Regions from separate parts of the Homo sapiens genome. Here region 2 is linked to region 1. The links are contacts of gene promoters, found by promoter capture Hi-C in human tissues and cell types (Jung and others, 2019). All regions are on one chromosome and are shown on one strand. Each heading gives the region's core, a stretch centred on a gene start or on the middle of the fragment in contact. The rest is flanking DNA. Distances are from core to core; before and after follow the strand shown.

Region 1 (5,448 bases), core at 53-2,552:
ACCAAAGCTGCAAACCATTTAGGGAGTCATCAATTACATATTTTGTACACTTTCAAAAAGCTTACAGCTGGGATGGGTTGTTTATTTTCAAAGCATGACTGCTTTAAAATGATCATATTCTTTAGCCTGCCACCTAGGAAGCATTAAGCATTTACTTGCAGAATGAACAAACGAGCACGTTGTCTTGTGTTATGAAGTATATAATATAGTTCGTTTTAGTTTCTTCATTCGCAGACTATCAGGCTCATTTCACGTGACTGCTTGCACTTAGAACTGAGTTATCACGGAGTAGGAACTCTCCAACATCGTCGTCATAGACCAAGAGATGCCCATGAACAGCCATGAAAGTGCCAGTCAGGGAAGTATTCAGTGCTTTGTTGTAGAGTTGTTGGATAGAGGCACAGGATCATTTCATGTTGTTGAGGAGAAAGGAGCAACAGCCTCCTCCCACCTTATTAAAAATAGAGATTTAAAAAAACCTCTAATTTCCTCGAAGTACAGAATCTCAAGAGGTAGCTCTAAGGAGAATCCCTCTGGGTTTGAGCGCATTCCTCTTCCAGGGGGCCTATTCTTGGACTGCTTTCCTTAATAGAGAAATCTCTCTGAGCCAAAATCGGCCTCCCCCAATTCCATCCTGTCGGCCCCACTTTTCTGCTTCGGAGACTTCCAAGCCAGTCCCCACTCCTCCTTCAGCCAGTCGGGCCCGCACCCGCGCCCGGCAGGGCCAGCCCTCTCCTCCTCCTGCGTGGCGCAGCACAGGCCCTGAGCGCGCGACCCCAGGCCCTGGGCGCCCCGCCGCATGCTCGCGGCTGGAAGCCCCAGTTTGCGTGGCCCTTCGGGTTATTCCGCTCAAGAGCCGCCGCGTCGCCCCATCTCGGCGCGAATCTGAAAGCGCTTTCGGGGGAGAAGATGTTGGGGGCACTGGTGAGTACACTGCACAAGTGACAAAATGTTTTCAGCTCCTGGAGGCGAAAGGTGCAGAGTCGCTCTGTGTCCGTGAGGCCGGGCGGCGACCTCGCTCAGTCGGCTTCTCGGTCCGAGTCCCCGGGTACGAGGAAAGACCACAGGGGGCTTCTCGCGGAAAAGCGGGCCGCGGACCCTGCGCGGGCTGGCTGGGGCGGGCGGATGACGAGGCGCAGGGGCAAGGGTGGGTCTGCGAGGCGGCGGGTCCGGGCGTCTTAGGCTCCGGGGCTCCCTCGCTGGCGGCGGAGCAGGGATGGCGCGCCCGGGGGTGAGGGTGCGGCGGGTCACAAGCACTCGCAGCCCGCGGCGCAGCAACCCGGCAGGCACACGCACACGTGCACGCGCGCCCCGCACCCGCCCCCCGTGCGGCCCCCGGCTCGGGGCGGCGGCGGCGGCGGGGGCCGGGGGCGCGCGGGCCGGCGCCGGGCTGGGCCCCGGGGACCCCGCGGGCGGCGGGCAGGCGGGGAGGGCGCTCTGGGGCCCGCCCGCGCGGCTCCCATCCTCCGGGCCGGCCTCTGGCTCCGCGGGGCGAGGGGAGGCGCCCGCCGGCTCCGGGCGCCGCGGGCGGGACACGGGCGCGGGGCGCAGGCGGGCTCCTCCGGCGCGTGCGGACGCTGAGCGTGGCCTGTCCCTCAGGTCTGGATGCTGGTAGCCGGCTTCCTGCTGGCGCTGCCGCCGAGCTGGGCCGCGGGCGCCCCGAGGGCGGGCAGGCGCCCCGCGCGGCCGCGGGGCTGCGCGGACCGGCCGGAGGAGCTACTGGAGCAGCTGTACGGGCGCCTGGCGGCCGGCGTGCTCAGTGCCTTCCACCACACGCTGCAGCTGGGGCCGCGTGAGCAGGCGCGCAACGCGAGCTGCCCGGCAGGGGGCAGGCCCGCCGACCGCCGCTTCCGGCCGCCCACCAACCTGCGCAGCGTGTCGCCCTGGGCCTACAGGTGAGCCGCGGGCGCGTCCTGGCGGGGCCCGGCAGGTGGGGAGGGCAGGGCTGGGCGGGGAGAGTGGGTGGGGCCGGGCCGAGGCCGGGCAGGCGGGGAGGGTGGGGCGGGGAAGGGGAGGTGGTTGGGGCGGGGCGACGCGGAGGGGGCGTGGCACGCGGGGCGAGGCGGAGCAGGTAGGGGTGGGGTGGTGCGGGGCGAGACAGGGTAGGGTACGGTAGGGTGGGGTGGGGTGCGAGGGGCGCTGCGATGAGGCGGGGTGGGGCGGGGCAGTTGGAGCACTGGGGGGCAATTCCTAAACTGCGAAGGCCCACCCCCACCACCTCCCTTGAAGGAGTCCTGCTTCCTCTCTTTACCCTCCAGTATTTCCTATGCAACACGTATCTCTTGAACACCTCATCTCCTCCAGGTTGGATGGGTCCGCAAGGCACTAGCTGGGGACCCTTCCGTGATGTGGACACAGTGATGTGGACCGTACTCTGCACAGGGGGCCCGGGGAGGTGCTGCTGGGGGGTGCGCGGTACTATCCACATATTTCCTGAGTGCCCCTGTGGTCCAGAGGCTGCTGGAGTGGAGCCCTGGGAAGCGCCCTCTGAGCCCCTCTAGTTTAATAGCCTAAGGAAGGAGTGGGGATAATTGGGAAAGAAACCACACCATCAGGCAGTGCATGAAGTGACATGAACAGTTTCGAGAGTATTTTGGTCTTGGAACAGAGGTCATTTCAGAAGAAAGGGACAGCCTGCAGAAGGGGAAGGCTGGAGAAGTTGGGGGCGTGTAGGCAGGGTGCCGCAGTGTCCTCAGCAGGCACCTGTGACCGTCTTCCCTCTAGCTGGAGCAGGAGGAGCTGCCCTAGGGGGCAAGGCCTCCCAGGGCCACAGAGGTCAAGAAAGGCTTCGTGAAAGAGCTGAGTCTTGATGGAGGAGAGCAAGTCGCCTACAAAGGCAGTGCTGAGGGAAGGGACAGCTGATAGCAAGCGGGAACAAAGCGCTTGGAAAATGGGGAGAGCCACAAGGCGAGCGGGGGCGGTGGGGGTGGGGGGGCGTAGGCGAGGTGTTTGCCTGTGGGGTGGGCATCGATGTAAGGCTGGAGACAGGTGCAGGAGCTGGATCCCCGCCTTGTCAGCAGTGCAGAGCTTCACCCTCACGCCTGGAATCCCAGCACTTTGGGAGGCCGAGGCAGGAGGATTTAAGTCCAGGAGTTCGAGACCAGCCTGGGAAACATAGCGAGATCCCATTTCTGCAAACAATTTTTAAGGATTAGCGAAGTGTGGTGGCACGTGCCTGTGGTCCCAGCTACTCCAGAGGCTTAAGTGGGAGGATAGATTGAGCCCGGGAGGTTCAGGCTGCAGTGAGCTGTGGTGGCGCCACTGCCTTCCAACCTGCGTGACAAAGCGAGACCCCGTCTCTAAAATAAAAATTAAAGAGAAAAAAAGTCTTGACACTTGAGATGGAGGAAGCCATACAGCCACTCTGGTTTAGGAGGGTGTCCCAATGGGGCATGGATTGGACAATGCTCTCCAGCACTTCCATCCAAAGGATCTAGGGCTTCACTCAGGCAGCGCGGTGGGAAGGGGAGACTAGGATCAGCGTGAAAGATGCTCATTAAAGAAGACAAGTGCTGTGGAGAGTCAGAGGAAATGTGATGATTTTGTCTAAAACGCATCTGGGCTTTCCTGGAGCCTCTCCCTGCCGGCTGCTGGGTAGGGAGATTTCCTTTTACTCAACAACACACAGGACCCCTATGCTGTCCTGGGAAGCCAAGTTTTAGGGCCTCCTGCCTCCTGGCTACTCTGCAGAGGACCAAGCTCACTGTGGCAGAGCCCCCTCAGAGCCCCTGCCCACGGGGAAGTTGGGTGGGACCCCTCCCGCCCTTCTCACTCCTGTCCTTCAGCTGGAGCCTGCAGGGCACACACATGGCGCCATTCATTCTGGTATCTTGGTGCTCTTGCTTTTCCTCTCTCTTCCTCCATTTCCAGGACCTGAAGGGATGGACTACGGCATTCTTCTTTCTCTAACCTCGTGTTATGCTTCTGATATACCAAATAGGATTAAAGCCACATAAGGAATCTCTCAGAACCAGAGATTAACTTCTCTGGACAGAAGCTGCTGGCCCTGCTTTCTATAGCAGATTCGAACTCTCAGGCAAACCCGTGGCTCCCCACAGGCTGGGCCAAGGGCCTAAGAGTAGTATATAGCCTCCCAAAGGCATGTCTCTCATGTTTCTGGCTTGGGTTGTTGATGGTATTTGAGCAAAATGAGAAAATACACTTAGGAACAAGTGTTGTGGGAGGAAATAATGAATTTAGTAACAAGCCTGTTGAGTTTTGCCTGCCTGAAAGGCGTACAGGTGACAATGACTGGTTGGAGCTCAGGAGACAGAGCAGGGCTGGAGGACACATGGAGAGTTAGCAGCACTGGCATTCTGTGTGTGGGAAGTTAAATTGAGTTGCCCTTGCTACAGATGACACCTATGTCGCCCCAGGCAGGATCTGGGAGCCGAGGGAGGTTATGGATGAGAATGACACACAGGGTTCGGGGATCGTGGTCTGGGCCACCCAGATCTGCCCACATGTGGAACCTCAGTGCTGGGTGGTCCCAGGAGCAGGAGTGGCAGCTGCAGCAGGGTGGCTGAAGGTGTCATGTGCATCATTTTTCATATTATTTAGCAACAGTGATGAGATCACTCCCCATGGGCAAACGGAGGTGGGTGGCTTATATTTGCTGAAGGAAGGACAGTCTTCAGGGGATGGCTGCTGGGCTGGGACTCCAGATTGCTGACTGCCAAAGCTGCTCCTGCATTTTCCTGCCAGGAGAGCCCTCTCTGCCCTCCTCCCTCCAATCACCTCTCACCATCTTTTGGGTTATTGGGAAGATTAGAAAAAGTGAGACCCAGCCAGGCCCAGTGGCTCACCTGTAAATCCCCGGCTACTCAGGAGGCGGAGGTGGGAGGATCACTTGAGCCCAGGAGTTTGAGACCAGCCTGGGCAACATAGTATGAGACTTATCACTACAAAAAAAACAGCCAGGTGTGGTCATGTTTGCCTGTGGTCCCAGCTACTTGGGAAGTTTGAGCCAGGGAGGCTGAGGCTGTAGTGAACTATGATTGTGCCTCTGCACTCCGGCCTGGGCAACAGAGTGAGAACTTGTCTCAAAAAAAAAAAAAAAAAAAAAAAAAGGAAAAGAAATAGTGAGCCAATGGAAGTGTGGAGCCTCTACTAAAAGATGTTGTGGAAGGACAGGTTTTTTCTTTTAGACAGAATCTCGCTCTGCCACCCAGCCTGGAGTGCAGTGACACAGACAGATCAATGCAGCCTTGACCTTCTAGGCTCAAGGGATCCTCCTACCTCAGCCTCCCATGTAGCTGAGACCACAGGTGCGCACCACCACATGCAGCTAGTTTTTTTGTTTTGTTTTTTAGAGATGGGGGCCTCACTTTGTTGCCCAGGTTCGTCTTGAAGTCCTGGGCTCCAGTGACCCTCCTGTCTCAGCCTCTCATAGTGCTGGGATTACAGGCGTAAGCCATGGTGCCAGGCCAGGGCTTGTTCCTTGGTGGA
Region 2 (5,594 bases), core at 802-3,301, 230 kb after region 1:
AATGGTGTGAACCTGGGATGAGGAGCTTGCGGTGAGCCGAGATCGTGCCACTGCACTCCAGCCTGGGCAACAGAGCAAGACTCTTGTCTAAAAAAAAATAGAGAGAGTGAAAAAAATAGCCAGGTACAGTGGCTCATGCCTGTAATTTCAGCACTTTGGGAGGCCGAGGCAGGAGAATCACTTGAGGCTAGGAGGTGGAGGCCACATTGACCTATGATCGCATCACTGCACTACAGCATGGGCAGCAGAGTGATACCTTGTCTCAAAAAAAAAAAAAAAAAAAAAAAAAAAGGCCGGGCATGGTGGCTCACACCTGTAATCCCAGCATTTTGGGAGGCTGAGGCGGAAGGATCATTTGAGGTTAGGAGTTCGAAACCAGCCTGGCCAACATGGTGAAACCCTATTTCTACTAAAAATACAAAAAAAAAATTACCCAGGCGTGGTGGTGGGTGCCTGTAATCCCAGCTACTTGGGAGGCTGAGGCAGGAGAATTGCTTGAGCCCGGGAGGCAGAGGTTGCAGTTAGCTGAGATCGCACAACCATTGCACTCCAGCCTGGGTGACAGAGCAAGACTTAGTCTCAAAAAAATGTTGGACACCTTTGAGTATTAACATAGATTATCCAGGTGAAGGGCACTGAGCTTAAACTTCATCACCTCATGGTAAGTTCCCTGTGCAAAGCTGGCAGCAAGGTTCTTGTGAGTGTCCCTGCCTCTGTGGCTAATGCTAACTGACATGGGCTATGTGAGGCGACCCCTCAAATACTGGAACTTCCATAGGTGCATGTGGAGGGGCTTTTGGGAGGGTTCTGGGAGGAGTGGATCTGCCCGACATGGGTAAGCTGCCTCCATTCCCACTGTCTTCACGGTCACTCAACTGACACGCTCTTACTCACTCCCTGTTCTTCATCTCTTCCAAGGTTTCTTCCCCTGCTTGGGGGACACAGTTGTCCTAATCAACAGCTGAGGCTGAGCCCAAGTCCAACCAGGAGACAGAAGAGTTTCTGTTGGCTGGGGAGGTGAGAAGGCTGGAGAGCTGATTGCGGATCTTGCCTTTCTCGGAAAGCCCAGAGGGGTCTCTAAGGTTCCCAGACACTTCACATTTTTTGTCCAGGGCTTTTGGTTTCAGCTGCAATTCTGGAACATGGGAAAAAAGAAAATCCACATAACATTCTGTTGTACATTTATTCAAAATACAGAAAAGAAATATTTAAAGAATAAAATAAAGATAACATTCACAAGAGGAACCATGAAATTAACCCTCTCCTGGGAGTATACACTGGAAATCAATTTGGAAATATATAACAAGAGCATTAAAAATGTTCTTAAGAATATAATTAAAGATGCAGAAAAAGATTATGTACTCATGATAAAGCTTATACAAGGAAAAGAAAAAGATCATGTATAAAGATATGCAATATGATGTTATTTACAAGGTATATTTACATTTTAAATTATTTAAAATAGGAAATAACCTAAATTTCCAATAACAAGTAAATGGTTAATTAATTTGGGCTATATCATCATAATGGAATATCATATAGCCATTCAAAGCCATTGTTTTATGAGTTTTAGTGACAGGGAAAATGATTACTATAGGTGTCTGTTCACTGTGTTTTCAAAGTGTCCTAAATTTTCTTTTTTTTTTTTTTTTTGAGACGGAGTCTCGATCTGTTGCCCAGGCTGGAGTGCAGTGGCGTGATCTCGACTCACTGCAAGCTCCGCCTCCCAGGTTCATGCCATTCTCCTGCCTCAGCCTCTCCGAGTTGCTGGGACTACAGGCGCCCACCACCACACCCGGCTAATTTTTTATATTTTTAGTAGAGATGGGGTTTCACCATGGTCTCGATCTCCTGACCTCGTGATCTGCCCGCCTCCACCTCCCAAAGTGCTGGGATTACAAGCGTGAGCCACCGCACCCAGACTTTTTTTTTTTTTTTTTTTTTAATTATTTATTTATTTTTTTCTTTTTTTATTTTTTTGAGACGGAGTCTCGCTCTGTCACCCAGGCTGGAGTGCAGTGGTGTGATCATAGCTCACTGTAGCCTTGACCTCTCTGGCTCAAGAGATTCTCCTGCCTTGGCTTCCCAAGTAGCTGGGACTACAGAGGCACATCACCACATCTGGCTAATTTTTAAATTTTTTTGTAAAGACAGGGGTCTCACTTTGTTGCCCGGGCTGGTCTCAAACTTCTGGGCTCAAGTGATCATCCACACACCTCGGCCTCCCAAAGTGCTGGGATTACAGGTGTGAGCCACTGTGCCTCACCTCAATTTTGTAGGATTTTTGTAGGATTTTGATTCCAATCTTTTCTCTGCCACTTATCATTTGTGTGCCCTGAGTGAGTTCCCGTCATCTCGGTATGTCTGTTTTTCATCTGTGCAATAGGGGTCACAGTACCTACCTCATGCTGGGTTTGAGATCTCCGTGTGCCACATATTAGCTTGGGACCTTGGGCTGATTAGTTGTCCTCTCTGAGCCTCAGCTCCCAAGCCAGGAGGTGGAGCTAATGTGGCTGCCTCCAGGCATTAGCACGAAGATGGGCAGGGATGGCTCTGAGCACCCAGCACAGAGCAAGACCCCTTCACCCGGTAGACACCTGGCAGACGGGAATTACCACTGCTTATGATACAATGGTATTTCCTAAATTTGAAGATAATGTTGAAAGTAAGCTGCATCATGGATTTAATAATAGTGCTTTGAGTGAGAGAGAGAGAGAAAAAAGAAACCAATGTGGCATTCAGTGCATAAGAATAAAATGAGGTGTTGAATAAAAAGACTTGGGCCGGGCGTGGTGGCTCATGCCTGTAAATCCCAACACTTTGGGAGGCCGAGGTGGGTGGATTACCTGAGGTCAGGGGTTTGAGACCAGCCTGGCCAACATGGTGAAACCCCGTCTCTACTAAAAATATAAAAATTAGCCAAGCATGGTGGCGTGCGCCTGTAGTCCCAGCTACTCAGGAGGCTGAGACAAGAGAATCGTGTGAACCCACAAGGCGGAGGCTGCAGTGAGTCGAGATTGCCCCACTGCACTCACTCCACCCTGGGTGACAGAGTGAGACTCAAAGAAAAAAAAGTCGAATTTTTATACACATCCGTTAGGGACTTTTCACATCATGTGCATTTCCATAAATCTACACATTGTATTTTTGCACAGACTTGTGTTTCTAGGTGTGTCTGGGGCTCCAGGATTCTCTTACAGGAGACGACTGTTCAACTTGTTTTTAAATGAAAACACTAATGTTTCGTTTTATTTTTTTCCCTGCATGAAAAGTAACAATCCACCATAAAGCAAGGGGCATGCCCCCCGACCAAGCCATCCTTGCTCAGGGGTAGAGAGTAACCCTTTGCGGGGAGTGGGTGATAGTGCTAAGATTTGGGTTCTGGTTTTAAGGAGTTATCTAAAGTTTAGTTCTGAAAGAAGACGCAAAGGGGATTTCTCATGGAGGAATGCAAGCCTATGGGACAGAAGGCGATGAGTCAGGAATCGTTGGATTGGGTCACCAAAAGCCTGGGTCCTGATCCAGGATGCTTGTCCCAAAAGGGGCCCCACATACTTGATTAAGAAGGAAAGAGTGAGACCACTGTGAGGGGCAACAGTCAAGGATGGGGGGCAGAAGGGGTCTTTGAATCTGAAGCCCACCAGGGGCTGACTGTCCAGCTTTGATGTGAGCAAGAGCCCCTTTGAGGAGCTGCCCAGGCTAGTTCCTTCCACAGTGGCTCAAAGACAGGAGTGCCTGATCTGCTGCCGACTGGCTGGGAGACTGAGATTTGTTGCAGGCCAACTAGTGCATGTGACCCAGTGTCAGATATATCCCCAAAATATCCCTGGCAAGTGGCGGGATGATCTCCTACCCCTTCGCTTGAGCAGGCCGGAGGCCAGGAGCTGAGACTCCTCATTCTCCATTTCTGTTTACCTTCTCCCCAGCTGGGAACAAAGGACAAGAATTTGGGAGTGACAGGCATGTGGCCACACACTCAAATGCACTTGTTTATACCTGTTTGTTTACTGTTTCAGCAGATTCTTGCTTAGCAATAACTGAGTTTATCTCCTTGTCTTAAGGAAACTCTTAAGAATGTTATTATAATGTAGTAAAATTTAAATGTCTCTTGAATGATGAAGCACTAACTAATGTGCTATATCTAAATGTAGAAATGCACATTTACGAGTATTGTCCTCTCCCGGCATTTTCATCTGAACACTCAGTCTGTTGACAACACTCAAAAACTTCATAAAAGATCACAATCTAGCACTTAAGTTCTACAGATAATGTTGAAATCTTGCACAAGATTTAGGAATCTCAGGCAATGACATGCATAACATTGCTATTAGGAAATGTGTAATATACTCTTCTGTTACTATCAGTGGAAAGTCAAAAAACAAACAAACCATAGTGATAAGAGCTGTGTGAATTAAGGAATTTTAGAGCTGAAAGTGACCTTCGAAATCCTAGAGCCTCACCCATTTTTACCTTCTAATAATCGTGCTGTAAAATATCACACTTACACTGTAGAAAATTTGGAAATATACAGAAGATGTTTAAAATTAGGAAGAAAAGGCTGGGCACCGTGGCTCATGCCTGTAATCCCCGCACTTTCGGAGGCTGAGGTGGGCAGATCACAAGGTCAAGAGATCGAGACCAGCCTGGCCAACATGGTGAAACCCAGTCTCTACTAAAAATACAAAAAATTAGCTGGGCGTGGTGGCGCGCGCCACTGCAATCTGACCTAGCGACAGACTGAGACTCAGTCTCAAAAAAAAAAAAAAATCAGGAAGAAAAAAATCACCCACAATTGTATCACCTACAAGAGGTCACCATTTTTTAAAACTTTGCCGTATTTCCTTTCAGACATGTAAAATTTTTGATATATTTATTTTTTTCTTTTTCTTGCTACAAAAAACTGAGATCGTACAGTTTGTATCCTTCACCCTTTACTTAACATTATATAGTGATAATTTTGCTTTTTATTAAAAACTTTTTGAATATGGAATTTTTATTGATTACATAAAATGTGACAGTATGGCATAGAGTCATAAAATATTTGTAACCGTCATCATAGTATTGAATGTGTAATTGCGTTTAAAGATACTATAGTATAGATGTGCTAAGGGAAATACTTTTGTGCATAACTGTTTGTCCCATTTTTAAATTGTTTCTGTAGAAATTGTTGCCAAATTTTGTTCCAGCCAGGTGCGGTGGCTCGCACCTGTAATCCCAGTACTTTGGGAGGCCGAGGTGGGTGGATCACTTGATGTCAGGAGTTCAAGACCAGCCTGGCCAACATGGTGAAACCCTCTCTCTATTAAAAATACAAAAAATTAGCTGGGCATGGTGGTGCGTACCTGTAATCCCAGCTACTCGGGAGGCTGAGGCAGGAGAATTGCTTGAATCCAGGAGGCAGAGGTTGCAGTGAGCAGAGATCTCACCACTGCACTCTAGCCTAGGCAACAGAGGGAGACTCCATCTCAAAAAACAAAACCAAACAAAAAAACAAAACAAAACAAAATTTTGTTCCAGAAAAGTTATAACAATTTTTATCAACAACATGAGAGTGTCTATTTCAGTGTAACCTTTCTAGAATCAGAGTATTACTT

Evidence for each region. The method cuts DNA at HindIII sites, captures the fragments that hold promoters and counts their contacts. A contact is called where the count stands out against the background at its distance.
Region 2: a fragment that was not itself captured here is called in contact with the fragment with the promoter of IL17D in region 1 in 2 of the 25 tissues and cell types used here (H1 embryonic stem cells and IMR-90 fibroblasts).

Annotation. Positions count from the first base shown.
Region 1 is chr13:20,702,397-20,707,844 of GRCh38, forward strand. It overlaps IL17D (interleukin 17D), which reads left to right and starts at 1,303. Exons shown (of 2, transcript NM_001385224.1): 1 at 1,303-1,895. The coding sequence starts at 1,606. RefSeq lists silencers at 685-764, 1,185-1,324, 1,615-2,124. The HindIII fragment of the contact is 9,244 bases long and covers 1-3,742 here.
Region 2 is chr13:20,936,010-20,941,603 of GRCh38, forward strand. It overlaps LINC00367 (long intergenic non-protein coding RNA 367), which reads right to left. Exons shown (of 6, transcript NR_104058.1): 5 at 3,854-3,926; 6 at 2,555-2,641. Among named protein-coding and RNA genes, the nearest start is that of LINC00367, 11 kb to the right of the region's middle. RefSeq lists an enhancer at 3,591-4,090. The HindIII fragment of the contact is 3,224 bases long and covers 440-3,663 here.